2 separate regions of the Homo sapiens genome follow, and region 2 is linked to region 1. The links are contacts of gene promoters, found by promoter capture Hi-C in blood cells and fetal thymus (Javierre and others, 2016). All regions are on one chromosome and are shown on one strand. Each heading gives the region's core, a stretch centred on a gene start or on the middle of the fragment in contact. The rest is flanking DNA. Distances are from core to core; before and after follow the strand shown.

Region 1 (7,816 bases), core at 3,474-5,973:
TGTGCTGAGGGCTCTGGCTCTTTCTTTTTTCTTTTTCTTCTTTTTTTTGGTTTTGTTTTGTTTTGTTTTTGTTTTTGTTTTTTTTTGAGACGGAATCTCGCTCTGTCGGAGTGCAGTGGTGCAATTTTGGCTCACTGCAACCTCTACCTCCTGGGTTCAAGTGATTCTCCTGCCTCAGCCTCCCAAGTAGCTGGGATTACAGGCATGTGGCACCATGCCTGGCTAATTTTGGTATTTTTAGTAGAGACGGGGTTTCTCCATGTTGGTCAGGCTGGTCTCGTACTCACGACCTCAGGTGATCCACCTGCCTCAGCCTCCTAGAGTGCTGGGATTACAGGCGTAAGCCACCGCGCCCAGCCGATCATTTCTGTTTTCTAGAAAATTATTTTGTCTGTTTCCCCACTAGCATTCCTGATGGTTTTCCAGAGTCCTATCCCCTGAAGTTCTAATTGCTGGCATAATCACACTCTAAAAGGCTGAACCCCAGAATCATTACCTGAAAATTCGTACTACCAGTGGTTCTTCTTCATGATAAATCATGGACAAATTAAGCCTGAGTTTGTAAACTCTTTGGATACCAACTTTCTACCACTCTTGGAAGAGATGGAGGAGGTGTCAGTCATTTTGGTTGATACTAGCCCTAGGCCTGCCTTGTCCCAGGAGTTTCTTCACCTTAATCACAGACCAAATTGCATACTTTTATCTTCGAATCATCTAAAATATAATTTCAAATCACAAGACAGAATAAAATAATCTTTGAGAGAGGCAGAACCTTAGAAAGGAGATATTTTATCTCATTTATTTTACAGATGAAGAAAGTAAACTTCAGAGAGATCAAAGTGATTTGTCTCAGGTCACATAACCAGTGGCAGAAAGAAGAGAATTGCTGGAATGTCAAGATAAGAATGAATTCTAGGTTTAAAGTTGTTTAAGTATATCCCAAATTAAATATTTCATTCCTGAGCTCTAAAACCTATTTACATTGAAGCCTGATGTCCTAAACACGGTAATTACAAAGCTGGGTAATGGTCTCCATCCTTTCCTTTCATGAATCCATGTATGAAAGTTAGCTTTATCAAACTATTTCATCTCCAGAAAGGCATGTACATTTCATACTGTTCAAGTCTGTAATTGTCAGCAAAATCAGACCCAAGACCGCTAGCTTCTCAATTCAGCCTACAGACTGCTCCTCTAATAGACACACTGGACTCTCAGGGAGGTAGAATGGGCAAGCTCTAACAAAGGACAGCACTTCTGTGATGGTGTGGAAGTACCAAAGGTTTGACTGTACTTTAAAAAGGTGACATGGACGGCTGGGTGCAGTGACTCATGCCTGTAATCCCAGCACTTTGGGAGGCCAACGCGGGCAGATCACAAGGTCAGGAGATCGAGACCAGCCTGACCAACATGGTGAAACCCTGTCTCTACTAAAAATACAAAAAAATTAGCCAGGTGTGGTGGCGTGTGCCTGTAGTCTCAGCTACACTGGAGGCTGAGGCAGGGGAATCGCTTGATCTCAGGAGGCAGAGGTTGCAGTGAGCCAAGATCGTGCCACTGCACTCCAACCTGGGCGACGGAGCGAGACTTTGTCTCAAAAAAAAAAAAAAAAAGGTGACATAGGTGCAGAAACAGGTCAGAAATGATCTAAGTCAAGCTTGTCCAACCCGCCACCCAGGGGCCACATGTGGCCCAGGACAACTTTGGGTGCAGCCCAACACAAACTCATAAACTTTCAAGAAATATGAGATTTTGTTGCAATTTTAAGCTCATTGGCTATTGTTAGTGTTAGTGTATTTTATGTATGGCTGAAGACAATTATTCTTCCAATGTGGCCCAGGTAAACCAAAAGATTGGACACCCAATCTAAGTGAGCCCAATTTCCAAATTTACTATAAAACTACATTAATTAAAACAGTGTGCCACTTCACATCCATTAGGATGGCAATAAAGAAAACCAAAAAATAACAAGTGTTGGTGATGATGTGGAAAAATTGGAAACTTTGTGCACTGCTGATGGAAATGTAAAATAGTGCAGCTATGGAAAACAGTATGGTAATTCCTGGAAAAATCTTAAATGGAATTAGCTTATGATCCAGTGATTCCATTTCTGGGCATATATCCAAAATAATTGAAAGCAGGTTTCAAAGAGGTATTTGTACACCCACATTCATAACAGTACTATTTACAACAGCCAAAAGGTAGAAGCAATCTAAATATCCACTGACATATGAATGGATAGACAAAATATGATATACACATACAATGGAATATTATTCAGCCTCAAAAAAGGAAATTCTGACATGCTACAACATGGATGAAATGGAAGACATGCTGAGTGAAATCACCCAGCTACAAAAGAACAAATTTTTTTTTTTTTTTTTTTGAGACAGAGTCTCGCACTGTCACCCAGGCTGGAGTGCAGTGGCGCAATCTCGGCTCACTGCAATCTCTGCCTCCCGGGTTCAAGTGATTCTCCTGCGTCAGCCTCCTGAGTAGCTGGGATTACAGGTGCCTGCCACCACGCCCTGCTAATTTTTTGTATTTTTAGTAGAGACGGCGTTTCATCATGTTGGCCAGGCTGGTCTCGAACTCCTGACCTCATGTGATCCACCCGCCTCAGCCTCCCAGAGTGCAGGGATTACAGGTGTGAGCCACCGCACCTAGCCTACAAGAACAAATATTACATGATTTTACTCACATATGAGTAGACAAATACTAGAGTAGACAAATTTACAGAGAGAAAGTAGAAGGGTGGCTGCCAGGAACTTGGGAAAAGAGGGAAATGGGGAGTTACTGTTTAATAATACAGAGTTTCAGTTTTGCAAGATGGAAAATGTTCTGTGGACGGATGGGAGGTACTGAGGGTTGTACAACCGTGTGAAATACAGTTAATGCCAGCGAACTGTACACTTAAAAATGGTTAAAATGGCAACTTTCACATAATGTGTATATATATCTATAGATCTATAGATATCTAGATATCTGTAGATCTATAGATCTATAGATAGATTTTTTTTGTTTGAGACGGAGTCTCGCTCTGTCACCCAGGCTGGAATGCAGTGGACCGATCTCGGCTCACTGCAAGCTCTGCCTCCCAGGTTCACGCCATTCTTCTGCCTCAGCCTCCCGAGTAGCTGGGACTACGGGCGACCGCCACCACGCCCGGCTAATTTTTTGTATTTTTAGTAGAGAAAGGGTTTCACCGTGTTAGCCAGGATGGTCTCGATCTCCTGACCTCGTGATCCGCCTGCCTCGGCCTCCCAAAGTGCTGGGATTACAGGCATGAGCCACCACGCCCGCCCATGTAATGTGTATTTTATAGTTTAAAAAAAAAACTTATAAAATAGTGTGGTACTCAGACACAGATCATTGGAACAAAAATCCAGAAACAGACCCACACATATATGGTCACAAGGCGAAGGTAATTCAATGTATAAGAGTCTTTTCAGGCCGGGCGCGGTGGCTCACGCCTGTAATCCCAGCACTTTGGGAGGCCGAGGCGGGCGGATCACGAGGTCAGGAGATCGAGACCATCCCGGCTAAAACGGTGAAACCCCGTCTCTACTAAAAATACAAAAAATTAGCCGGGCGTAGTGGCGGGCGCCTGTAGTCCCAGCTACTTGGGAGGCTGAGGCAGGAGAATGGCGTGAACCCGGGAGGCGGAGCTTGCAGTGAGCCGAGATCCCGCCACTGCACTCCAGCCTGGGCGACAGAGCGAGACTCCGTCTCAAAAAAAAAAAAAAGAGTCTTTTCAACAAACGGTAATGGAACGACTGTATATCCCAATAGGAAAATGTTGACACTTACTTGACAACATAAGCAAAAATTAATGATATTAGATCATATCATAGACTTACACGTTAAAGACTATGTAAAACATATATGAGAACACAGAATATCTTCAAGAACTTGAGGTAGGCAGAGATTTCCTAGCACAGGAAAAGCACAAACCATTAAAATATAAAACTGACCAATTGACTTAATCAGAATTAAAAACTTCTTTGCCAAAAACGTCAAAACAATGAAACGACAGGCCCAGATTGGGAAAAAGACTTCGCAATCATTTATGTAACAAAAGATTTTCATTCAGAGCATACATATATCTAACAAAACATTTGTATCCAGAACTGTTAAACACGAAGGACCAGATTTAAAAACGGGCAGAAGACTGGAACTGAAACTTCACAAAAGATGCAGAATGGTCAGTAAGCACAGGACAAAAACGGTGCCAGTGACGCTGGTGCCAAAGCGGGAAGGAACGCATTCTTCAGCCTAAAAGACCTAACAGTAGGACACGGACATAACCACTCCCGGCCAAAAAGAACACAGAGCAACACAACGTCTTGGCTAACGAAAACTCAAAGCCTCAATTCACTCAGTTCCTTCACAGCGCTCGGAAACAGAGAAGTCTCGCGGTATCGGAAAATGCGCGGCGCTCACAGCCACACCTGACGAGATGGAGGGCGCAGGCGCATCCACGGCTTTCAGATTGGGCGACTGACTTCAAAGGGGGGGGCAAACAGGGAACGCGCAGGTATAGGAGCGCTGGCTGGAGGCTCCTCGAGAGCTCCCCAGACACGCCCCCGTGCGTACGCCCCCGTGCGTACGCCCCCGCTGCCGCCACCTTCGGTTGACCACCCCCATCTAGACTGTACTCTCGCGGTATTTGTCCCGACTCTCGCGGGGTTTAGCGTGGCATTGGGAGGCCCGGCCTGGGGGAGGAGACGGCGTTCCGTTAGCGGCGTTGGGGTTTGGCTGCAGTGGCAGTGCTTTCTCTTCTGCTCACGGGGACCCGCTCAGGCTGGAGGCCAGCCAGGTGAAGAGCTCGCCCGCATGCGTGCGCGCTGCGTGGGAGCCGCGAGGCCCGGGGCGGGAGGGGGCCTCGTCTTGGCCTCCTGCGCTGTCGCGACGGGCCGGCGTGAGGCACCGTGGCGCGGACTTCGTCTCAGCCCCGCCCTCGCCCCTGCCCTCGCCCCCGCCCTCGCCCCTGCCCTGACCGCTTTTCTCCCCCTCTCTCCCAGCTCTTGCCGCCACCTCGGTCGCGATGGGGGCGCAGGACCGGCCGCAGTGCCACTTCGACATCGAGATCAACCGGGAGCCGGGTGAGCTGGAAACTGGGGAGCGCTGCTGGGGCCGAGGCCTGCCTTGGCGAAGGGGAGGGGTCTACCCTCAGCAACCCTCCCCCGGCCTTTTTGGGAGCGGGTAGGAGGCGCAGGCAACTTTCCGTTTTCTCTTGAGAGAAAATCAGTGGGAGAGGAAGGTGGCCTGGGCACACCCCTAACTCGCAGTCCGGGCCTCTTCCTGCCAAACCCCACACACCCCGCTGCATCTCCGGACTGAGTCCTCGTAGCCAGCCTGGCGCCAAGAAAAGGAGGTGCAGTTCTTTGAGGACTTTTTCTCTCCCAGTGTCTCCGTGAGGCAGACACTCCCGATCCGATTTCCGGTTATCTTGCTTGGTGCTATGAAGTTTCAACTAGTAGGAAATATTGTGTGTTTCCTAATCACGATATATCACTAATATGTTAATTTTGCCTCTATTTTTCCTTAAGAATCTTTAGCTAGAATTTCGTGGTTCCTGGGAAAATGGCTTAGTGAAGATCTTTTGTGATAAACCAGAGCATTTTGTACCAGCAGAATTGCAGCATGCATGCACTTAGCATTAATGTTTGTCTTTAGGGAATCCAGACATTTGTTAGTGTATTTTTTTTAAATGAAACATTTCCTTCTAAAGCATAGTTATTTCATTCTAAGTAGCAGAGCGTGCAGGGTTTCAAACTGTTTTCTTAGCTTTTTTTGTTATCCGTGACAAAAGTTTTAATTGGAGACATATATATATGTGTTGTCTTTGTGCAACATCTTGTTCTGCATATTCTTATGAGAGCCTGCTACTGTTCTAGGGTCTGGAGATAGAGCAGCGCATAAAACAAAGGCCTCTTCCTTTTATAGTTTATATTCTATTGGGGGGAAGACGGACAACTAGGAAAAAAATAACAGTGACTTGTAGTTGGGATACTATTTTAATAAGTTGGTCAGACAAGGCCATTTTGAGAAGATGAGATTTAAGCAGGTATCAGAAGGAGATGAAGTGAGCCGTATTTAAGAAGAGCATTCGTGGTAGAGGGAAACAGCACAGCCCTGAGGTGAGGAGTAGTATACAGTCAGGCGCCAAATGACATTTCTATCTTTAACAATGGTCTTATATATAATACCTTTTTTTGGTAACTTTTTAATGTTTAGCTGTGTTTAGATATACAAATACTTCATTGTGTTAAAGTTGCCTACGGTATTCAGTGGAGTAACATCCTGTACAGGTTTGTAGCCTAGGAGCAAATAGACTATATAGCTTAGGTGTGTAGTAGGCCGTACCATCTAGGTGTGTTTAAATACATTCCATGATGTTCACACAATGACGAAATTGCCTAATTACACATTTCTCAGAATCCGTCCTGGTTATTAAACAATGGAGGACTGTACTTGCATGTTTGAGGGACAGCAGGGTGCCCAGTGTGGCTGGAGTAGAAGAGGAAAGAGAATAGTAAGAAATGGCCTGTAGGACTGACTCAGTGAGGTAGGAAGATATTAAAGGGTTTCGAGCAAAGGGATGAGATAATCCTGGAAATTTGGTTGCCTTCTCTCTCTTTTTAATGTTTTTAGCCTTGATTGATCTTTTTTTTTTTTTTTTTTAAATAAGTGTTACTAGAAAGCCTTGATGGACCTTAATCTTTATTTTGTAGTGAATCCATGCTTTAGATAACAGGGTTATTTTCTATTAAGAATTAAAAATAGCTCACGCCTGTAATCCCAGCACTTTGGGAGGCAGACGCGGGTGTATCATTTTGAGGTCAGGAGTTCGAGACCAGCCTGGCCTACATGGCGAAACCCCATCTCTACAAAAAATAAAAAAATTAGCTGGGCATGGTGGCTCTCTTAGTTTTTGCCTGTAGTCCCAGCTATTTGGGAGGCTGAGACTGAAGGACTGCTTGAGCCTGGGAAGCAGAGGTTGCAGTGAGTAGAGATTATACCACTGCATGTCAGCCTGGGTGACGGAGTGAGACCCTGTCTCAAAAAAAAAAAAAAAGAAAAGAAAAGAAAAATAGTAGATTGCTGAAGAGTAGAAGTATGACCAAGCATGGTGGCTCATACCAGTAATCCCAGTACTTAGGGAGGCCCAGGCAGGAGGATTGCTTGAACCCAGGAGTTTGAGACCAGCCTGGGCAATATAGCAAGACCCTGTCTACAAAAAACAATTTTTTTTTAATTAGCCAGGCATGGTGGTGCTCACCTGTACTTGGAAGGGTGAGGTGGGAGGATGGCTTGAGCTCAGGAGTTTAAGGCTGCCATGAGCTATGATTGCACCACTGCACTCCAGCTTGGTCAACAGAGCAAGATCTTGTTTCTAAAAAAAAAAAAAAAAAAAAAAAAACAGCTTAAGAAAAAGTACAAATAAAAATTTCTGTAGTTAAGTACTCCTTTCCTAGTAAATGTTCAGATCCTAGATTTGCACATAACCTGTGTTGTGAAAAATCTCCAGAATATGTTTGACAAATGTTCAATGAACCTCATTCCTCAACATCCAAGGCAATTCATTGTGATAGATGTGTAGATGTGATTAGCACTCTTGAGAACGCCGAATCATATAAAACAAGGAAATGCAATGCTTACATTGTTCTAGGTTTAATCATTTGATAGTTGGAAATTTCATATGGTTCAGTCTTGTGAAATAACTAGCACTTTTTGAGTATATTAACTAAATAGTGGATTTTACACAACTTTTTTTTTTTTTTTTTTTTTGAGGCGAAGTCTCACTTTTTCACCC
Region 2 (7,816 bases), core at 2,914-5,413, 690 kb after region 1:
ACCGCAGCCTCGCCCTCCTGGGCTCAGGTGATCCTCCCACCTTAGCTTCCCAAGTAGCTGGGACCAAGGTGCATGCCCCCATGCCCAGCTAATGTTTTTCATTATTTTTGTGAAGACGGAGTCTCTCTGTGTTGCTCAGGTTGGTCTTGAATTCCTGGCCTGAAGTGATCCTCCCACCTCTGCCTCCCATAGTTTTGGGATTACAGGCGTGAGCCACCTCTCCCAAGCCAGATGAAAATATTTCAAAAGTGGATTGGGGCGATGGCTGCATAACTTTATAAATTTACTAAAAAACCATTGAATCGTCCACCTATTATTGGTGAATTTTATGGTATGCAGATTATATTCAATGAAACTGTTAAACAAAAGTATTAAATCTCCCAATTTAAAAATGTTCTCAACTAATTCAAATTCTTAAAGAACCTATGTGGGGAAAAACAATGCCACAAGTCTGTGGGTGAAAAGCCCTGGGACTGCCTATTTGCAACCTCAGTGCTAGGTGGCAGGAATAGAAATTTAAATAAAATACAATCCTTGTCCCCCCAGAGTTTAAGATCCAAAGGGAGAAAATGGAACAATAAAATTACAAAACTGTATGATACTATGAGTGGGAGGGTATGGGGGTCCCAGAGAACTCCTGGCTCTGACTGGAGTGGGACAGTTAGGAGTAGCACAGAGGATGTGACATGGGAGCTGGATTTTGATGGGTAAGTAGGAATTCAGGAAACTGCGGGTGTAGTAAGTGGAGAAAAGGAGTAGGTGACATTTCCAGACAGAAGGAACAGAATAGGCAAAGACTGGGAATTGTGAAAAGTCAATTCTCTTTGTGAGAACTGGGAAGGCTGGAGACAGGGTACACATGCAGAAAAGAAAGTGCAGGAGAGGAAGCCAGGGACCAGATCAGGAAGGGCTTGGTAGGCTGTATTGACGTTTTTAGATAAGGGATTTATCAGGATTTATTTGCTGAAAGAACAACATGGACATGCTTCTTTTGGCCTAAATTAGACTTTGCATATTTTGGCAAGATCATATTGCACACATTAAAAAATATTCATTAATATACTGCTTACTATATGCCAGCCTTTGTTCTAATACTTTATATAAACTCAATCTCATCAACTCTGGTTCTCAAACTCTAATCTGTCTCAGAATCACCTGCAAGTCTTAAAACAGAGAAATCAGAGTTTCTGATTCAGTAGGTCTGAGGTGGAACTGGAAAATCTGCATTTCAATCCAGTTCCCAGGAGAAGCTGATGCTGCTAGTCCAGGGAGCACACTTTGAGAACCACTGCTTTACATCAAACTTATAAGAAAGGTATTATTATCATCACTGTCTTTCTCATTTTACAGAAGAAACATATAGAAGGTTATGCAACTTTCCCAAAGCCATCTTGCTCTTAGCAGTAGAGATGGGGTTAAATGTCAATGTCTGTCCTATCTTCTAGTTCACTGGTTGCAAACAAGCAGAGTTAAGGACTGGCATTTCCAATTCTTGTTTGCAACTATCAGAAATATCTCTCTCTCACACACACACACACACACACACACACACACACACACACACAGGACCTTAACTGACATCTGAGATAAAAGAGTAGAAGATGTTAACTGATGCCCATAGGGTGGTGAAGGAGTCTTTGAGGAACTCTTTAGGTCATTCCAATTAAGTATTATTTTGATCCTACTGGGGTGAAGCCAGGATCTAGAAATGCACAAGTATAAATGTATGAAATAACTAGTTAAATATGTAAAAGGGAATGTTGTTAAATAAAATGTCACAACTCAAAATTGAACTGTGTATGAATATTCAATGTCTGTTGTTTTAAATACATTTATTTTAAAATTTGAAATAAATTACAAAAACTAACAATATCCAGAGAAGATAACCTTGTTACATATGCTGCTTTTGGGGTTCCAAAGATGAAAATGACAATTCTTTCATCAGTCTGCTCAATTTTCACATTTTGATCTAATTTGTGGCACCTCCCTGGTTTCCTTCCAATAAACAACATCTTCCTTAAACTGGTGGCATTATGTTATTTTTGAGATCTGAATCACAGAGACTGTAATACAAGCAAGCATGCTTCATCTTGTCGTTTTGTAGAATGCTGTACATCTAATTAAAGCTTCTTACAGGTCCATAAAAAGACCCAACATTAAAAAAGCAGTGTGTTGGAGAAAGCCCCAGGGCAGAGTGGAAAAGGAGTTTCTTCATTAACTATAAGCACATTTGCTTAAATTCCAACTTAAGTAATACTATTAATTTGTACTTGAATATCTTAAAATATTGCCGAAGCATAATCAAATCATGTCACCACATTTATGGTGTGGAACCAAAACTGGGTCATATTCTTGCCAGCAGCACTTCAGCTACCCAAGAAATACTGGGGATGAATAAATGATTTACCATGTGGCCAGTACTGCGTCCTTCTCTAGAAGAGTATTGCAGCCAACTTCATTTAAATCAATTTATTATTTTGCCCTTTTTCATTTGTTTTGCTCTTTTATGCCTTGTTTTCCTTAGAAAATTTATTCAAAACCTAGTTAAACAGCAGCAATATAAATACTTTATTTTTCAAGAGCTTATATATTATCGTCATTGTTCTGTAGTTACTGATATAACTCAGGGACTACAGACCCAGGGGTGGAGGCCTTCGACCACTGGAAATCCCTTGGGAGACCATTACAGTGGTATTTTCTCCCTTTAGTTGGCTACAGAGTTCCCTGAATAGTGATATCTCCCTGAGGAGAAAAGTGCATGGTCTTCCTGATTTCTAGCAACAAAAGGACAAATTCTACAAATCCAAGTTAGGAGCTCTTGCTTAATATGCTGCTACAGTTACGATTTCCATGTCAAAATGAGATGACTCTTTTATGGTCTTTTCAGGTCAGAGTGATCCCAGGTGGGACCCTAAGGCGCAGAGGCCTAATCTGAGGCTTTCCCTGGTGCTCTCCCACCACCTGATGCAAGGGTATTAGGGTAACTGGGAGTCCCCTTGATCAGAAAACCCTATGTTATTACCCTAAGAATCAAACTGTTTGCACCTCCCAACAATCCACTCCTGCTTCCCAATCATCTTCAGACATGCAAAGTTGATGCATAGAAGCTAAAAGGCTTTTGACATTTGCAGGTCAACAGAGATTTGCTAAAACCATCTAGATTTCTCTTCGCAGTCCAGTCAATTCAACCAAGCCTGCAGCATCTCCGCAGCTCTTCTGGCTTGTGTCCTTCCTTGCTAGGGGTCCTTTCTTGGGGAAGGGTGGACACAACGTGGGAACAGAAGGGGAAAAGCAGGTTGAAGAAATCTGGCGTCTGGTTTGTTGGTGTTCCCTTCCAGGAACCCTGAAGAGCTGGTCTCTATTGCATGCCATGCTTCCAGGGGTGGGAGTCGGGAGTCCCCTCCCACCCTCTGCGGCCATCCCTAAGCTCCCTTCCAGAGCAACCTGGCCTGGCGACCATACCACTGAACCATCAAGGGCTATGGTTAATGCCCGGCGTGTTTTGAATCTCTGACTTCACGTGCTTTGATGTGTCCCCACGACCGTTTACTTTTCTATGCTGTTGCCAGAGGCTGCCTAGCAGGGCCTGTGTCTCCCGCTGACCTTTAAGGCCAGCACTGCATTCAGATGTTGGGCTTTTCCAATTTTGCTTAAATAACAACAAAATCAACCGAATTTTTTCAAATTAGAGTCCCAGGGAGAAGAAACTACAGAGAAAAAAATCATATTATGTATATATATGTATATACATATGTGCATGTGTGTATGTATATGTATTTTTACAATTTTTTTATCCTTGTTTAAACCTGGGCGGGAACCAAAGAGTAAAGCGCGTGCGGCTCCCTGCCCCCTGCCGCCAAGACGCAGTCCTGTACAGACGCGGTCCCTTCCCTCCGATTTCCCCTGACAGCTCGCGCTACTTTTTCCCGGCCATTGTTCCGTGTCCCTGGTGCTTCCTCCTCCCCCGTCCTCCATCCTCCTTGGGCGCCTTGCCCGCTTTGTCCCGCCAGCCGCCTCAGCCCCGACTCGCCGGGGTCAGAAAGCCGCCAGGATGCCCTCCAGCAGCCCGCGCGCCGGCCGCAGGTGCGCGCCGCCCCGCCCTGCCCTTCCCGCGGCCCCGCCCCAGCGCTGACGTCACAGTGACGCGCAGCCCGCGCAGGCGCAGCTACCCGGCACCCCCTCCCCGCGGCCGGCAGCCCGCTCGGTATTATGATTAGCGCTGGGTGCGGGGTTTCGGCGGCCGGGAGGGAGTTGTCGGCGCCGCGGCCGCTGCGGACGGACGCTCGCCTGCCGGCTGAGGTAGGGGCGAGCGCGGAGCGCGGCGGGGCGCGGCGGCCGTAGGCAGGGGTGCGGGGCCGGCCTCCGCCGCCTCAGTAGCCTCCGCTGTTGCCGGGCTGGGCGCCCGGGCCGGGGCGCTCGCCGCAGGCGGAAAGTAAGTTGCGCTCTCGGCGCCGGCCGCAGCGCGCGGCCCGGGAGGACGCGGGGCCCGGGCTGCGGTGGCCCGGACCCCGCGGCGCGGCCTGGCGGCGGGGCGGCGGCGGGGCCCGGCGGGAGCCGTCACTGCGGCGGCGGCCGCGGTCGCCTGGAGGCCCTGCCCTTGCGGCCGCGGCGGGATTGCGGCACCTCGGAAGGCGCCCGCATCCCCGCGCCCCGCCCCGGAGCGGGCCGAGTGCGGCGCCCGCGGGGCCCCGCGCCCTGGGCGCTTGGTAGGGTGTGTGTTCTTTGAATGCGTTTTCCCCTTTCAGAAGACTGTAGAAATCCGGCCTCAGCAAAAGGGTTCCGTGGTCAAACTGCTTTACAATAGAGTGGGGATGTTGTCTGTAGAGAAAGGGCAAAGGGGTAAGGAAAGAGGAGCAGTGCCATTCCCGAGGGAGAGCTAGAATTTTTGCAGACTGGGAGACTGGGAAATCTACGTTCTTTTCCATAGTCATCGCCTGTTGATTTCTTTCTGGTCCATTTTACAGGGACCTTCCTGCCTTTTACTTGGACTTGGGTTGCAGGAAAGTGGCAGCCTTTTATCTTCGGGGTTCTTGGAGCTGTGCTATTTGTAACTGTTGGATCGCATACAGTCCAGTAGTTTCATAGGGAGTTTCAGGCTTTGGGGAGAATTTAGCAGTGGAGTTCCTAAATCTATAGAGGTCTGAGGATATGGGACCTTTCAAACTGTCATGTTACTTTCCACCCCCCTTCCCTTTAATTATGTGCATTCTTAAAGTCTTAGGAACCGTGGTAAAGTTGACTTAATGCCTTAAACATTTTGTCAGGTTTTAAGGTGAAGCATGGCTTGCAAGTGTTGGACATCCTGTTGAATCTCCACCAAGTTCCTATCAAACATGAAATGCCTGAGTTTGGGCTCCTTGTATGGGATTGGAGCACTATGTCCCAAACCAGTCTTTAACTTATCAGAATATATACAGCAGTGTACTTTAAAGCCCGGGTTGTCAAGGCTTATGTAATCAGTTTGTTAATTTATAATCTCGTTACATTGCTTTCCAGATTTATAAAATAATTCCCTTAAGGAAATCTGTCCTCAACGTCTGCTTAAATATTTCTCTTGGAATTGGATTCTTGAAGAGGAATGTACTGTACAAGTGATGATTAAAGCATACTAATTAGACAAGTTTCTTTTTTTAAAGAACACCAAATACCAAATTTTTAATCTGATTATCTGTGTAATTGTCCTTGAGAGGAGAACAGGTGGACATTCCCATTTTACAGAACTAGAAATGAGAGAAATTACATGACATTTCCAAGGTCACATATTGAAGCAGTGTAGAAAGTCAGGTGCACAGTGCTAACTTTTTATAATACTCTCATCCTGAAGGCTTTTCAGGCAGGAAACTTTCAGTGCCACCTTTCAATTTTTTTTTAAATTTGTATAATCAGTTTTTAATTGTTCATTTTGTGCACAAAAATTACTCTCACCGTATTTTTTAATAATTCTGAGTATTTTTTTCTGTTTTACTGCAGTAAGATCCATTAGTCTAAAACATGCTAGAACTCAGAAGTTGTACTAATTTTATTTTTCTAGACCAGAAGTATAGGTTGGGTCTTTATGGTTTAGATTTAATCACATAATCCTAAAAGAAAGGCTTTTAAATGTCCTTATTAAAATTGAAGGGCTTTCGTGATATTTTTACTGGTCACAGGAAATACTGTTCATCTGAACTTCACTGTGAGTACTTCCCTCATACAGAAAGTGAAACCAAATAGAAAAATATTTATTTCTGGAGATACTGAGCAGCCATGGTTCTAAGTACTGGTATAAATAAGACATGATTTCTTCCCTGTAGCAGCTTGTCTAATCCTAAGAGCTCTTTACACTGCCCAAGAAGAAAAGGGTACAAATGAACTTTCCATAGGCCAGAATCTTAGGAATTAAAAACCGTAGATGAGAAACTCTAGACTTAATGTAACTGCATCCCAGCTGTTTGCTTAAAGATAGAGTGTTTATAACTAAGATGCTTTAGTAAGAAAACTGTTATTCAGAATTTAGGTATTTCCCAGTGTGTATCTATGTGCAGGTAAACTTAGAACAACTTAGGTGGAAAAATTGAGTGGATCCTAGCAGTTCTGAAGATAAACTTAACCTTTGATCATTTATTCATGGAATGTTTGTGTGTCTCTTTTGGTGGCCCTAGGGTAGAGGGAGGGCAGCAGTAGAAAAGTGAATAAAAACCAGTTCCTGACTGTAGGTTCTTAGAAGCTACTGGGGAACACCAAGGTAAACAGTAACAGTACGAACAGATGAACTGTGGTGAGGCATAGGGAAAAACCTGCAGAAGCACAAGGATGGCGGCAGTGAACAACCTGACATGGAAATGCTTCACAGAGGAGGTGATGGTTAAACTGGTCTTGAAGAATAGGAAGAATTCCCAGGCAGAGAAAAAGGGAAAAGGCTCAGGGGGTTCAGGGAGGGTGAGAAGACAAGGTCAAGTGGTGGGTGGGAGAAGAACATAGATCCAAGTGGGTGAAAGGGAGTTGAGAAGGCTGAGACAATGCAACTGTTCTTTCCTTAAAGCATTTGAAAAGGAAGGAGGGAAATGGGGCAGTTGCTTTGGGGGATGGAGGAGAAGGATTTTGGTGAGGTGTTTGTTTTGTTTTGTTTTAACTTTGGGAAGAGCTGGTATAAAATTCCTCAGATTTAATGGCCTCACGAGTGAGCACTGGAACTGTGTTGTCTGCTCTGGATAATCCAGAGCTACGTCATTGATCCTCATCTGCTTTTCTGCACATCTGCTTTGGGTTGTGGCTCTGTGTCTCATGGGAAACCATTTCTTGCTGGTGGTAGGGAAGGAACCTGTCTAAAGAGGATTCCTGCTTTGCCCTCCCTGAACATTTATTTCTCTGCTGTCACTTCCAGAGCCTCCTGAGAGTCTGCTTTGGCATCCCCAGCATTTGGCCTCTGCTCAGGTAGGCTGTTCCATGGCAAATCAGGCCTCTTTCCCTTTCCTTTTGCTATTATGCCCCCTAGTCTGCTGCCATGTGGCTACTCAAAAGTTACTTCAGACTCAGAGATCATTAGTTGTTCATCTAACATGTTTTAAGTTTTGGAGTATCTTCAGGCCCAAAGCAAGATTAGGTCTATCTGCACATCTAAACACATACCCTCTTGACTAATATTTGCCTGGACCGTTTAATGTAGGTTATGACAAAAATGCTCCAGGAACCTGGATTACACAACATAACGGTGGTCAAATCGCAGCCTCACTGGGCCTCAATTTCTTAATTGTTGACCTGCAGTTATCTCTCTTAAACCCATAATACTGTCAGCTCTTTGAAGGCAGAGACTACTTCTTTGATCTGTACATTATCA

Evidence for each region. The method cuts DNA at HindIII sites, captures the fragments that hold promoters and counts their contacts. A CHiCAGO score of 5 or more calls a contact.
Region 2: the fragment with the promoter of SNRK here is called in contact with the fragment with the promoter of NKTR in region 1 in 6 of 17 cell types (total B cells, naive CD8 T cells, total CD4 T cells and 3 more); the score reaches 9.1 in total B cells.

What each region holds. Positions count from the first base shown.
Region 1 is chr3:42,595,963-42,603,778 of GRCh38, forward strand. It overlaps NKTR (natural killer cell triggering receptor), which reads left to right and starts at 4,724. Exons shown (of 17, transcript NM_005385.4): 1 at 4,724-4,816; 2 at 5,022-5,102. The coding sequence starts at 5,045. It overlaps SS18L2 (SS18 like 2), which reads left to right. Exons shown (of 3, transcript NM_001370300.1): 3 at 1-972. It also overlaps a transcript of SEC22C not described here. RefSeq lists a silencer at 4,818-5,027. The HindIII fragment of the contact is 13,164 bases long and covers 1,653-7,816 here.
Region 2 is chr3:43,282,377-43,290,192 of GRCh38, forward strand. SNRK (SNF related kinase) reads left to right here and starts at 4,164. Exons shown (of 7, transcript NM_017719.5): 1 at 4,164-4,299. RefSeq lists an enhancer at 3,904-4,404 and silencers at 4,009-4,408, 4,649-4,698, 7,110-7,337. The HindIII fragment of the contact is 7,817 bases long and covers 2,125-7,816 here.